Linked DNA regions of Homo sapiens: region 2 is linked to region 1. The links are contacts of gene promoters, found by promoter capture Hi-C in blood cells and fetal thymus (Javierre and others, 2016). All regions are on one chromosome and are shown on one strand. The core of a region is centred on a gene start or on the middle of the fragment in contact, and the rest is flanking DNA. Distances in the headings are between cores, read along the strand shown. Region 1 holds the start of EPHA1-AS1 (EPHA1 antisense RNA 1). Region 2 has its middle 110 kb from the start of PRSS58.

Region 1 (6,310 bases), core at 1,288-3,787:
AATGTAAATGATAGAAAAATTATGAACAATTTACCCAGATGGGATGGAGCGAAAGAAGGAGGGGCCAGGAGTGGACCCCCAGCCTCTTTAGTAAATGCATCACTCCCCTTTGAGCTACTGTGATCCCTGTGTGTACCTTGCCTGGGGTCCACTCCTGCCCGCCATTTCAATCATTTGTGCAATTATTTATGTCTCAACCCCCAGCATCCCCAAATTAATAGCTTATATAGGGCAAGACATTGTCCTTCTGTTCTTAGGTGCTTCTAGAGCTTCCTGCATGCATAGCAGAAACTGAACAAACATTTACTAAATAGAATATAAGAAAGTCTCGGCAGAGCGCAGTAACTCAGGCCTGTAATTCCAGGACTTTGGGAGGCAGAGGCAGGGAGATCACTTGAGATCAGGAGGGATCACCTAAGGTCAGGAGTTCGACACCAGGCTGGCCAACATGGTGAAACCCCGTCTCTACTAAAAATAGAAAAATTAGCTGGGTGTGGTGGTGCACGCTTGACGCTTGTGATCCCAGTTACTCGGGAGGCTGAGGCAGGAGGATCGTTTGAACCAGGGAGGCGGAGGTTGCAGTGAGCCAAGATTGCACCACTGCACTGCAGCCTGGGCCACAGAGCGAGACTCCATCTCAAAAAAGAAAAAGAATATAAGGAAGTCCGCAAGAAAGTGAGAGGGCACGTGGTTTGACACCACTAAGATGGGTTAAAATATCCTTCCCTGCCACCTGTGGCTGGAACCTTAACCAGATATTCATGTCTGCTGTGTAAGTGCATGTCAAGGTTCAAACTCCTTTTCTTGTTTACCCAGCCCTGGCCCACACCTGCCTTTCTGCCCTGATTCCCAAGACAAATCCTGCGCCCCAGCAGTCAAACTGGTCCATTCACCACTCCCTGGGCGCACCTTGAGGCTCCCTGCCTTCAGGCCCTTGCTGGTGCCTTTCCCAATCTCTGCCACTGAAAACCCAGGTCACACCAGCTCTCCCTGAAGACTCAACTAATGTGCCCCGATGACTGGGCTTGCTTCCTCTTCTAATCTCCAGATGCTTCACTGCAGGTTGTACCCCACCTTGCATTGTGGTCATCTAAGCCTCCCCTGCTAGAGGGTGAAGATATGACTCTTACCCCTTGCCTTCCCCGGCCCTATTACCCAGCTCTGGGGCCTGCACAAAGACAGAAAGAGGAATATAGGAGTGTAATTCAAGTCAGAGGTAGAATTAGGTTAAAAGCTGGATCAAGATTGGGTTGAGTTTAGGATTAGAATTGGGAAAAGGTTCGTCAATTCTTAATCCCACCTACTAGGCGGCGCCCGCAGTCTCATTCGGGTCAAGACGCCTCCGGTTCTTGAATTTGATTACCAGTCTAGCAAGTTTCTTTCCTGCCCTACTGTCCCTTTAAGGAGGTGAACCAGGTGAGGCCGGGACTCCGCCCCCGGCGCTGGCCCCGCCCCCCGCCCCCGCCCGGCCCGCCCGGCTCTCCTAGTCCCTTGCAACCTGGCGCTGCCATCCGGGCCACTGTCCCAGGTCCCGGCCCGGAGCTATGGAGCGGCGCTGGCCCCTGGGGCTAGGGCTGGTGCTGCTGCTCTGCGCCCCGCTGCCCCCGGGGGCGCGCGCCAAGGAAGGTACCGACCCCCGCCCCCGCGCCCCCAACCCCCGCGCCCCGCCCCTTCCCGGGGCCCGGCCAGCACCCCCCTGCAGAAGCCGGCATTCCTAGGGGCCATGTTCCCCGAGACCCTCGCCAGCTCTCTCGCTGTGCCCGACCGCCAGGCTATCGACTGGCCAGGCCCATCTTTGGTCTTTAACCCCAAGCGGCTGCTCTCCCGGGTCAGTCACCCCCACTCCCGCAGGCCAGCAATCTGCTCCTGGGAGTGGGGAGGGAATTCCGGACCCTTGCCAGGAAGTAGCACCTGCACCCGCACCCCTGCCTGCATTCCCAGACAGTCCCAGCTTCAGGTGCCCACCCCAGAGATCTGAGCCCTTGGAAGTTGAAGGTGGGAAGTCGCCTCCTGCCAACCTAGGCCAGGGACAGAGGGAGCTGCCTCCGGGAGAAGGGTTAGGACTGACGCCACAGGGGTTCCCAGTTGTCCGAGTCGAATATTCCATGTGAAAGTTGGAACACCCTCTCCGGCCTTACTCCCCCCCACTTCCCAGGCAGGTAGCTGTGCCTCTTATCCCCACTTCACGGCTCTGATCACTGGCCAGGTCAGGCCAAAGCAGGCTTCGGACAGTGGAGGTGAGCCTCCCTACCCAGGAAACCCCTTCTGAGGTCCCCGGTCCACCCTGCCCACTCCTGGCTAGCAGAGGTGAGCTCCTCCTGCCCTCCACGCGTTCCAATCCTGCAGCTGATGGGTGTCCCAGGACGCAGCAGCCTGGGTAACTGAGCGTCTCGTGGGGCTGCTCTTCTTGCATTGACTTTGGTCAAAGACCCAGCGCCCCAACCCTTGTCCCACTCTACCTGCCTTCCTTCACACACACAAAGAAGAGTGAAATCCCTGGAGCTCTTCACTCCTCAGTCCTGAGCCCTTTTTCTCCCCTAAGCCTCAGGAAGTCACAGCTTTTAGGAACAGGATGTTGCAGCCTGGGGCTGAGGCCCCAGAATGATTAATGTGGGCTGCAGGGGCACCTCCTCCCCCAGAGGTGACAGACTTCTTTTCTCCCCACTTTCAGTTACTCTGATGGACACAAGCAAGGCACAGGGAGAGCTGGGCTGGCTGCTGGATCCCCCAAAAGATGGGGTAAGTGTCGGAAGAGGGAAGGATCTTGGAAAACTCCTGAAGGCCAGTGGGAAATGGGGTGGAGAGGTGGGTGGAGGAACAGAGAAAAGAGCAGGAAAAACTGGAAGTGTCTCCTCAGGGAGGGGGAGAGGAGGCTGAGTCAGAGCCTCCTCAATGGGACAAGGGGTGGGGGGGTCAGACTTCACCTCAAGATGAACGCTTGAATGGCCTGGCTCCTCCAGTGAATACTTGGGAATATTGTGAATACAAGCTGATACTTGTGAGGGGGAGAGGAGCTCACATACCCGGGGAGAGAATGCACCATGCTGGGGATGGTTGAAGGCTGAGACCAGTGCTTTGCTTGGGGAGGGATAGAAAAGGCAGAAAAGCATCCTCAATCTGAGATCCATTCATCCCAATGAAGTTGCATTGATAGGTTTCAGGGGGTGGGGAAACCCCATGAAAGTGTACTCTAAATTCTGTATATGTAAGCGGGCATTTTTTTTTCTGGAGAGACCAGCCAAAGCTTTCATCAAATTCTTCAAAGGGTCTTTGACTCCTCCGAAGTTAAAAGCTGCTCCCCTAAAGGTTTCTGAGCCCTTAGCTCATCCTCCACACCTCCTCAGGCTGACTGCGTGCACACCATGCATTCCAGCTGTTTGAAAGTGTCAGAGCTTGTTCCAGTTCCCTTCCTTCCTTGGATGTTCCTAAGACTCAGTGAACAGGTTGTGAGGTGGGTCTGAGAGAGCATATTCAGACTCAAATGCAGAGAGCAGCTCTTATGATGTACAAAAAACCAAACTCAGTTTTTTCCTACTGCACTCTCAACACAAATCACTTCGGTGACCTGTGGTCACCAAAATGCGTGTAGGGATTCCTCCCGCCTGCAGTCAGTTCTCTCTGGCAGATTCTTCAGTGGACAGTAGCTGAGTGTCCTCTAATCTTATTCAGTTCTTACACTATCTACCTGGAGATAGCCTCAGGTTGAGGGCTCAGCCCCACAAGACTGCCCTCCTCTAGACAACAATCACAAGTAACATGTTGTCACCTATACTTCTGTTCCATCGGCTGTAATCAGGTTTACCTGACCCTCCTCCTCGGGTTCAATTAGTTTGCTAGGATGGCTCACAGAACTCAGGGAAACATTGACTTGGATTTACTGGCTTACTATAACGGTTATTACAAATGGTACCATGAACACCAGATGGAATAGCTGCATGGGGCAAGGTATATGTGAAGGAGGCGAGCCACCCTGCAGGGACCTAATCATGTATGGCCATCCAGAAGCCCTCCCAACCCCATCCTTCTGGGCTTTTATGGAGACTTCATTACATAGGCGTGATTAATTAGATCATTGCCCACTGGTTATCAGCTCAACCTTCAACCTCTCTACCTTCCCTGGAAGTTGGGGGTGGGGCCGAAAGTCCCAACTCCAATCACAAGGTTGCCTTCTGCCACCCAGGCCTCCCCCACCCCAGTCTAGTTCCCATCCCCGGCAGTCAGCTCACTAGCATATAAAAAGACATTTGTCACTTCAGGGATTTTGAGGGCTTTAGGGGTTGTTTGCCAGGAAATGTGGACAAAGACCAAATATATATTTTACAATTCACAGCACCCTTTCTGCCAGCAGCACAGCTGGTCACAGAACCACTTAGGGGGCTGCCTAAGTTACTGGAGCATCTACAACTCTGGCTCTGGAACCCCTTCTCTCAGGGTTTCCTTCCTTACCCCAGTACTTGAGACTTCAATCCAGCCCCTGTTTCTGGGGTCAGGGTTACTTGCTTTCTTTCCCTCTGGGTCCTACAGTCCTGGCTCCGTTCTCTGTTCTCCTACAGAGTAGCCTGTAATTAGAGCTAATAGACTAAACCATAGTGGATCCTCCAGGAGGGGCCGTTTGGAAGATCCAGCCCTAATAGTTGACTTATCTCATAAATCAGCTAATCACCCACAGTGATAGCTGCAGGTCAGACTTCTGGCTCCCATGGGCCTTCCTTGGGCCCTTGACACCTCCACCCAAATAACTCTTCCCTAATTTGACTGGAATGGCAGCAAGGCCACTTTCTCAGCACAGGCAAAACAGTCCTGCATGCTAGGAGGGCAAGGAGACAGCCAGCAGTCATACACTCCCACTATCTACCTTGTCCCCCTCCTTCTCCCCATCTTTTCAAAACACACACACACACACACACACACACGCACACATGCACACGCAGGCATTCAGGTCCAGAATGCACCCATGTGGCAGCCAGCAGCGCCTGAGTGATAAGCAAAAGGATCCTTACTGCTGATCCTGGACAGCTGGCTCTCGCCCATCTGTCACTGCTGGAACTGGGAGAGGCAAGGCACAGCTGGGAACATCTGCTTCTCCTGGCTCCAGCTTCAGCCACGGCAATCTGGCTAATGAGCTGCACGTTAACCACTCACCACCCTGCCCACCTGACCCCCGCCAGTGCCTTCCACTTGGGCTTCCCCAGCACAGCCTTCCTTAGGAGAAGCCTCCTGGTGCCTTTTTCATTCCAGCTTCCTTGCCTTTTAGACACCCCTTGCCCAATCTTTGAACTCCCTAACATAATGCAGAAATATGTGCCTCATAGCAGCTTCTATTTCTGCCCCACCTCACCCCAAATTTTTGATTAATGATTTTTTTTTTTGCCTTTTCCCAGAGCTGAGGGTAGGGATGAGGGCCCCTGCATTATAATGGAGTAGAAACCTCAGGAAAGTGAACTTTCTAAGGGCCTCAGTCTATTCTGCATTAAATTATGGGGTTGCAACAAAAATATCAATAGAATACTTTATAGAATTTGAGAGCTTTTGAAAATTCATCTGACAGAGGAAATAAGAATGGTTGAGAAGAGTTTTTGAAGAATGAAATGGGAGACTTGTCTGACAAGCAGATATCAGAACCATCAGCTATAACTAAAACATATGTCTTGCACAAGATCACTCAGGTTAATGGGACAGGATAGAAAGTCCAAAAACGAGCCTACACATATGAGGTTGTAGTATGTGATAGCATCGGAATTGCAAATCAATATGGAAAGTAATACCTAGTTAATAAACTGACGGTTAGATATTCATAATTTTTAAATAAATATATAAAGATATATCTCTCCATAGCCACGCGCGGTGGCTCACACCTGTAATCCCAGTACTTTGGGAGGCCGAGGCGGGCGGATCCTGAGGTCAGGAGATCGAGACCATCCTGGCTAACACAGTGAAACCCCATCTCTGCTAAAAATACAAAAAAATTAGCCAGGCATGGTGGCGAGCGCCTGTAGTCCCAGCTACTTGGGAGGCTGAAGCAGGAGAATGGCGTGAACCCTGGAGGCAGAGCTTGCAGTGAGCCAAGATCGCACCACTGCACTCTAGCCTGGGCAATAGAGCAAGACTCTGTCTCATAAAAAAAAAAAAAAGATATATCTCTCCATTATACACAAAATTCATTCTAAGAAAACTAAAATCTCAACCTAAAAGCCAACCTACACAAATTTTAGGAGAAAATATAGATCATTATAATCTTGAGATAGGAAAACTTCCCAAGTCAAATATACAACCCAGAAATCATGAAGGGAAATACTGTAGATGTTATTAT
Region 2 (6,310 bases), core at 2,401-4,900, 1.0 Mb after region 1:
GAGAAGGACGTGAGATTTGAGAGAGAAAAAAGGCAGAATGACAGAGATTGAATATTTGTCCCCACCCATGTCTCATGTTGAATTGTCATCCCCAGTGATGGAGGTGGGGCCTGGTGGGTGGTATTTGGGTCATGGGGGCAGATCCCTCATGGCTTAGTGCTGTCTTCACGATAGTGAGTGAGTTTTTGCAAGATCTTGTCATTTAAAAGTGTGTGGCAGCTCCCCCTCAGATATGGTTTGGCTCTGTGTCCCCACCCAATTTCACCTTGAATTGTAATAATCATCATGTATCAAGGCGAGGGCCAGGTGGAGATAATTGAGTCATGAGGGTGGTTTTCTCCATACTGTTCTCATGATAGTAAATAAGTCTCAGGAGTTCTGATGATTTTATAAATGGGAGTTCCCTTGTGAAAGCTCTCTTGCCTGCTGCCATGTAAGACATGCCTTTGGTCTTCCTTCACCTTCTGTCATGATTGCGTGGCTTCCCCAGACATGTGGAACTGTGAGTCTATTAAACCTCTTTTTTTTTTTTTTAAATAAATTACCCCGTCTTGGGTATGTCTTTATTAGCAGGATAAGAACAGACTAATACACCCTCCACTCTCTATCTCTTGCTCCTGATTTTGCGATGTGATGCGCCTGCTCTCCCTTGGCCTTCTGCATACTTATAAGCTTTTGGAGCCTTCCCAGAAACAGATGCCAGTGTTATGCCTCTTGTACAGCCTGCAGAACCATGAGCCAATTAAACCTCTTTTCTTATAAATTACCCAGTCTCAGGTATTCTTTATAGCAATGCTAGAATGGCCTAATATACCTTCTCTCCACTTAAAGACAGGAGAGGGAAGAGTAAAGAGGACTTTTTCTTGAAAATCAGACACCAGCTCAGCCATAGTCAGATAGGGCAATGAGCAGAGTACTGAGGCCCCAATTCTAGGCCCTAGCTCCTGGATGACATTTCTAAACACACCATGGGCCAGAAGGGAACCTGCTGCCTTGTGGGGAAGGAACAAGGCCCAGAAAGATTCATCATCTGCTGAATAAAGAGCACTTGGGCCCTGAATAATCAGCAGCAATGCCCAGGTAGTACTTGCCATAGAGCTTAGGTGAGAATCTGAGACATGCTGGTTTCAGGTGTGATGCAGCACATTCCCAGCTGTGATGAATATGAGGAGAGGCTCCTTCTGCTTGATAAAAGGAGAGGGAATAATAAAGGAGCCTTTGTCTTGCAGATTAGCTACCACCTTGGCCACAGTGGAGTAGAGCACAAAGTAGGCTCCTGGGGTCCCGGATTCCAGGACTTTGCTGTTGGATTGCATTTCTGGACCAGTCCTGGGCCAGAGGAGAGCCCATTGCCCTGAAAGAAGAGTCTCAGGCCTGGCAGCATTTACCACAAGCTGGCTAAAGAGTCCTTGGGCCTTGAGTGAACATTGGCAATAGTCAGGCAATTCTTGCTGTGGGCCTGGGGCGGTGGTAGCCATAGGGAGAGACTCCTCTGGTTGTGAAAGGGCAGGGAAGAGTGGAAATAACTTTATCTTGTGACTTGAATGCCAGCTCAGTTGCAGCAGAATAGAGCACCAGTTAGATCCCCAAGGTTTCTGACTCCAGGCCCTGGCTCCTGGATAACATCTCTGGATGTGCCTGGGGTCAGGGGGCCTCGTGACCCTGAAGGGAAGGGTATAAGACTGGCTGACTTTTCCACATGCTGATTGTAGATCCCTGGGGCCTTGAACATAGGCAACAAGCAAGGCAGTGGTTACTGTGGACCTTGGGTGAGACCCATTATCATGCTGGCTTTTTCTGACCTAGGATCTCAGTGATGGCAGCCACAGGGAGCTTGTACCACTACTCCTCAGTTCCAGGTAGTTCAGCAGAGAGAGAGACAGAGATGTTTGTTTGAGTGAAAGTGAAGGAAGAGAACAAGAGTCTCTGCCTGATAATCCAGAGAATTCTTTCAGATCTTATCCAAGACCACCAAGGCAGTATATCTGTGAGTCCACAAGGACCACAGAATTACTGGACTTGGGGTGCTCCCTAATGCAGATAAGGTTTCAGAGATAGAAAACTTAGATTACAACACCCAAGTACATTCAAATACCTGAAAAGCTTTCCAAGGGCGAGTACAAACAAGCCCAGACTGCAAAGACTACAATAAATACTTAACTCTTCAATGCCCAGACACAGGCAAACATCCACAAGTCTCAAGACCATTCAGGAAAACATGACCTCACCAAATGAACCAAATAAAGCACCAGAGGCCAATCCCAGAGAGAGAGAGAGAGATGTGTGACATTTCAGACACAGAACTCAAAATATCTGTTTTGAAGAAACTCAACAAAATTCAAGACAACACAGCCAAGAAATTCAGAATCCGGAAGAGAGCTAAATAATTAAAAACAATCAAGCAGAAATTTTGGAGCTGAAAATGCAATTGACATTCTGACGAATGCATCAGGGTTTCAACCTCACAATTGATGAGGCAGAAGAATCAGTAAGCTTGAAGACAGGCTATTTGAAAATACACCACCAGAGGAGACAAAAGGATAAAAATTAATGAAGCACAAATACAAGATCTAGAATATAGCCTCAAAAGGGCAACTTTAAGAGTTATTGACCTTAAAGAGGAGGTAGAGAGAGAGATAGGGCTGAAAGTTTATTCAAAGCTATGATAATAGAGAAATTCCCAAACTTAGAGAAAGATATCAATATTCAAGTAAAAGAAGATTATAGAATACCAAGCATATTTAAGTCAAAGAAGACTACATCAAGACAATAATCAAACTTCAAGGATAAATCAAAATTTCAAGGATAAAGAAAGGATTCTAAAAGCAGCAAAAGAAACAGATAACATACCATGGACCACCAATATAGTCTAGCAGCAGACTTTTTCAGTGCAAATCTTACAGGTCATGAGAGAGCAGCATGACATATTTAAAATGCTAAAAAAAAAAACGTTAATACTAGAATAGTGTACTCAGTGAAAATACCCTTCAAACATGAAAGGGAAATAATGACTTCCCCAGACAAACAAAATATGAGGGACTTCCTCAACACCAGACCTGTCCTAGAAGAAATGCAAAAGATAATTTTTCAGCATGAAAGAAAAGAACATTAATGAGAAATAAGAAATTATCTGCAGGTGCAAAACTAACTGATAATAGTGCGAAGAAAAACACAATATTATAATACTGTGATTACGGCGTGTAAACTACTTATAAAGACTAAAAGATGAACCAATTAAAAAAAAAACTACAGCTTTTCAAGACATAGACAGTGCCTAAGATATAAATAGAAATGACACAAAGTTGAAAGGTAGGTGGACAATGTTAAAATATAAGATTTTTACTAGTTTTCTCTGTTTTTTTTTGGTTTGTTTGCTTAGGCAATCAGTGTTATGTTGTCATCAGTATAAGATATTATTTGCAAGCCTCATGCATAGTAATTTTAAATACAAACATATGCAACGTAGTAACTTTAAATACAAACACATACAACAGATACACAAAAATAACAAACAAGAAATGAAAACACGTTATCAGGGAAAATCACCTTTACTAAAAAGAAGACAGGAAAGAAGAAACAAATGAAGAGAAGACCACAAAACAACCAGAAAACAAATACATGGCAGGAGCCAGTACTTAGTTATCAACAATAACATTGAATGTAAATGATGTAAACTCACCAATCAAAGGACATAGAGTAGCTGAATGAATATAAAAATAAGACCCAATGATCTGTCACTTACAAGAAACACACCTCCCCTAAAAAGACATATAGATTGAAAGTGAAGAGATAACAAAAAGATGTTTCATGCACGTGAAAACCAGAAAAGATCAGGAGTAGCTATATCTATATCAGATAAAATATATTTCAAGACAATAACTATAAAAAGAGGCAAAGAAGTTTACTATATAATAATAAAAAAGCTAGCACAAACATATGTATGGAAACTGCCACATTGCCATTATTGGCACATGCTTCTGAGCATGTACCCCAATGCCACCATTTGGAAAAAGTACTTTGGCTGGCATTCCCCATTGCAGTGTTGTTGCCAGTGGAATTGGGAACGCCTCAGCCCCTCTGGTGTAGCAGGTGCTTTAACCTTAAGGGGTCAAAAACCAAAGCTCTGGGCTTAATTCCAGCACCACAGGCCTACAACACGCAGCCCAGAAATACTGAGCTGAATCTTAGCCCCCTGAAATATTCCATAAATGAAGCCAGTCTCCTGAACCCAGCTTATGTAACAGTGAAACCCTCAAGGGCATAGAATATAAAAGCAAAAAACCCTTCCAAAAGACATCAGCTTAAAAGATTAAAGAAACCTCAGACCACAGAGATGAGAAAGAACCAGTGAAAGAACTCTGGCAACTTAAAAAGTCAGAGTGCCTTCTTAGCACCAAATGAACACACTAGCTTCCCAACAATGATTCTTAACCAGGCTGAAGCGGCTGAAATGATAGACATAGAATTCAGAAACAGGTTAGAAACAAACACTATCAAGATTCGGAAGAAAGCTGAAAGTCAATCTAAGGAATCTGATGAATCCAATAAAATGACACATTAGCTGAAAAATGAAATAGCTATTTTATGAAAGAACAAAATTGATCTGATAGAGCTGAAAAACTAACCTCAACAATGTCATAATGTAATCAGAAGTATTAACAGCATAATCAATGAGAAAATAATCTCAGAGCTTGAACACTTATTTTTGAATCAATTCAGTCAGACAAAAAAAGAATGGAAAAAAAAGAAAAATGAATGAAGTAAACCTCTGAGAAATATGGGATTATGTAAAAAGACCAAACCTATGACTCATTGATGTCCCTGAAAGAGGGGGAGAGAGAGTAAGCAACATTGAAAACATATTGGAGGATATTGAGCACAAAAAATTCCCTAACCTTGCTAGAGAGTTTAATATTCAAATTCAGGAAACACGGAGAATTCTTATGAGATACCATAAAAGACAACCACCCCCAAGACACATAGTCATCAGATTCTCCAAGGTCAACATGAAAGAAAAAATATTAAAGTCAGCTAGAAAGAAAAGGCAGGTCACCTACAAAGGGAATCCCATCAGACTAACAGCAGGTTTTTCAGGAGAAACTTTACAAGGCAGAAACAATTGGGAGCCAATATTCAACATTCTTAAAGACATGAAATTCCAACCAGTATCCCTATATATTTCATATCCAGCCAAACTAAGCTTCATAAGGAAAGGAGAAATAAGATCCCTTCAGACAAGCAAATGTTCAAGGAATTTGTTACTACCAGACCTGCCTTACAAGAGGTCCTGAAGGGAGTCCTAAACATAGAAATGAAAGATCACTAACAGCCACCAAAAAACACACTCAAGTACATAGACCATTGACATTATAAAGCAACTACACAATCAAGTCTGCATAACAACCAAGCAAGAACACAATGGCAGGATCATATCTACACGTATTAATATTAACCTTGAATGTAAACAGGCTAAACACAGCACATAAAAGTCGTTTATTATTAAAAGAGCTGCCAGGCGCCGTGGCTCACGCCTGTAATCCCAGCACTGTGGGAGGCCAAGGCGGGCGGATCACCAGGTCAGGAGATCAAGACCATCCGGGCTAACACGGTGAAACCCCGTCTCTACTAAAATACAAAAAATTAGCTGGGCGTGGTGGCGGGCACTTGTAGTCCCAGCTACTCGGGAGGCTGAAGCCGGAGAATGGCGTGAACCCAGGAGGCGGAGCTTGCAGTGAGCCAAGATCGCGCCACTGCACTCCAGCCTGGGCGACAGAGCGAGACTCCATCTCAAAAAAAAAAAAAAAAAAAAAAAAAAAGAGCGTCCAGTTGTATAGACAAGTGAAACACTGAACTGTATGCTGTCTTCGGGAGACCCATCTCATATGCAACTCCCATAGGCTCAACATAAAGCGATGGAGAAAAATGACCAAGCCAATGGGAAACAAAAAAGAGCAGAAGTTGCTATTCTAATTTCAGGCAATACAAACTTTAAACCAACAATTATCAGAAATGACAAAGAAGGGCATTGCATAATGATAAAGGGCCCAATTCAACAAGAAGACCTCACTATCCTAAATATATAGGTACCCAACACTGGTTCAGCTGGATTCATAAAACAAGTTCTTAGAGACCTACAGACACGTAGAAAACCACACAACAATACTGGAAGAGTTCAACACTCAGTATTAGATTGTCAAGGCAGAAAACTAACAAAGATATTCATAAACTAAACTCAACATTTGACTAAGTGGTCCTAACAGACATCTACAGAACACTCCACCCAATAACAGCATAATACACATTCTTCTCA

Evidence for each region. The method cuts DNA at HindIII sites, captures the fragments that hold promoters and counts their contacts. A CHiCAGO score of 5 or more calls a contact.
Region 2: a fragment that was not itself captured here is called in contact with the fragment with the promoter of EPHA1-AS1 in region 1 in 1 of 17 cell types (fetal thymus); the score reaches 5.9 in fetal thymus.

What each region holds. Positions count from the first base shown.
Region 1 is chr7:143,404,040-143,410,349 of GRCh38, reverse strand. EPHA1-AS1 (EPHA1 antisense RNA 1) reads right to left here and starts at 2,537. Exons shown (of 5, transcript NR_033897.1): 1 at 2,464-2,537. It overlaps EPHA1 (EPH receptor A1), which reads left to right and starts at 1,494. Exons shown (of 18, transcript NM_005232.5): 1 at 1,494-1,626; 2 at 2,672-2,739. The coding sequence starts at 1,545. RefSeq lists enhancers at 810-1,422, 5,007-5,521. The HindIII fragment of the contact is 7,900 bases long and covers 1-3,246 here.
Region 2 is chr7:142,360,577-142,366,886 of GRCh38, reverse strand. It overlaps TRB. Among named protein-coding and RNA genes, the nearest start is that of PRSS58, 110 kb to the right of the region's middle. RefSeq lists an enhancer at 831-1,462. The HindIII fragment of the contact is 3,097 bases long and covers 2,102-5,198 here.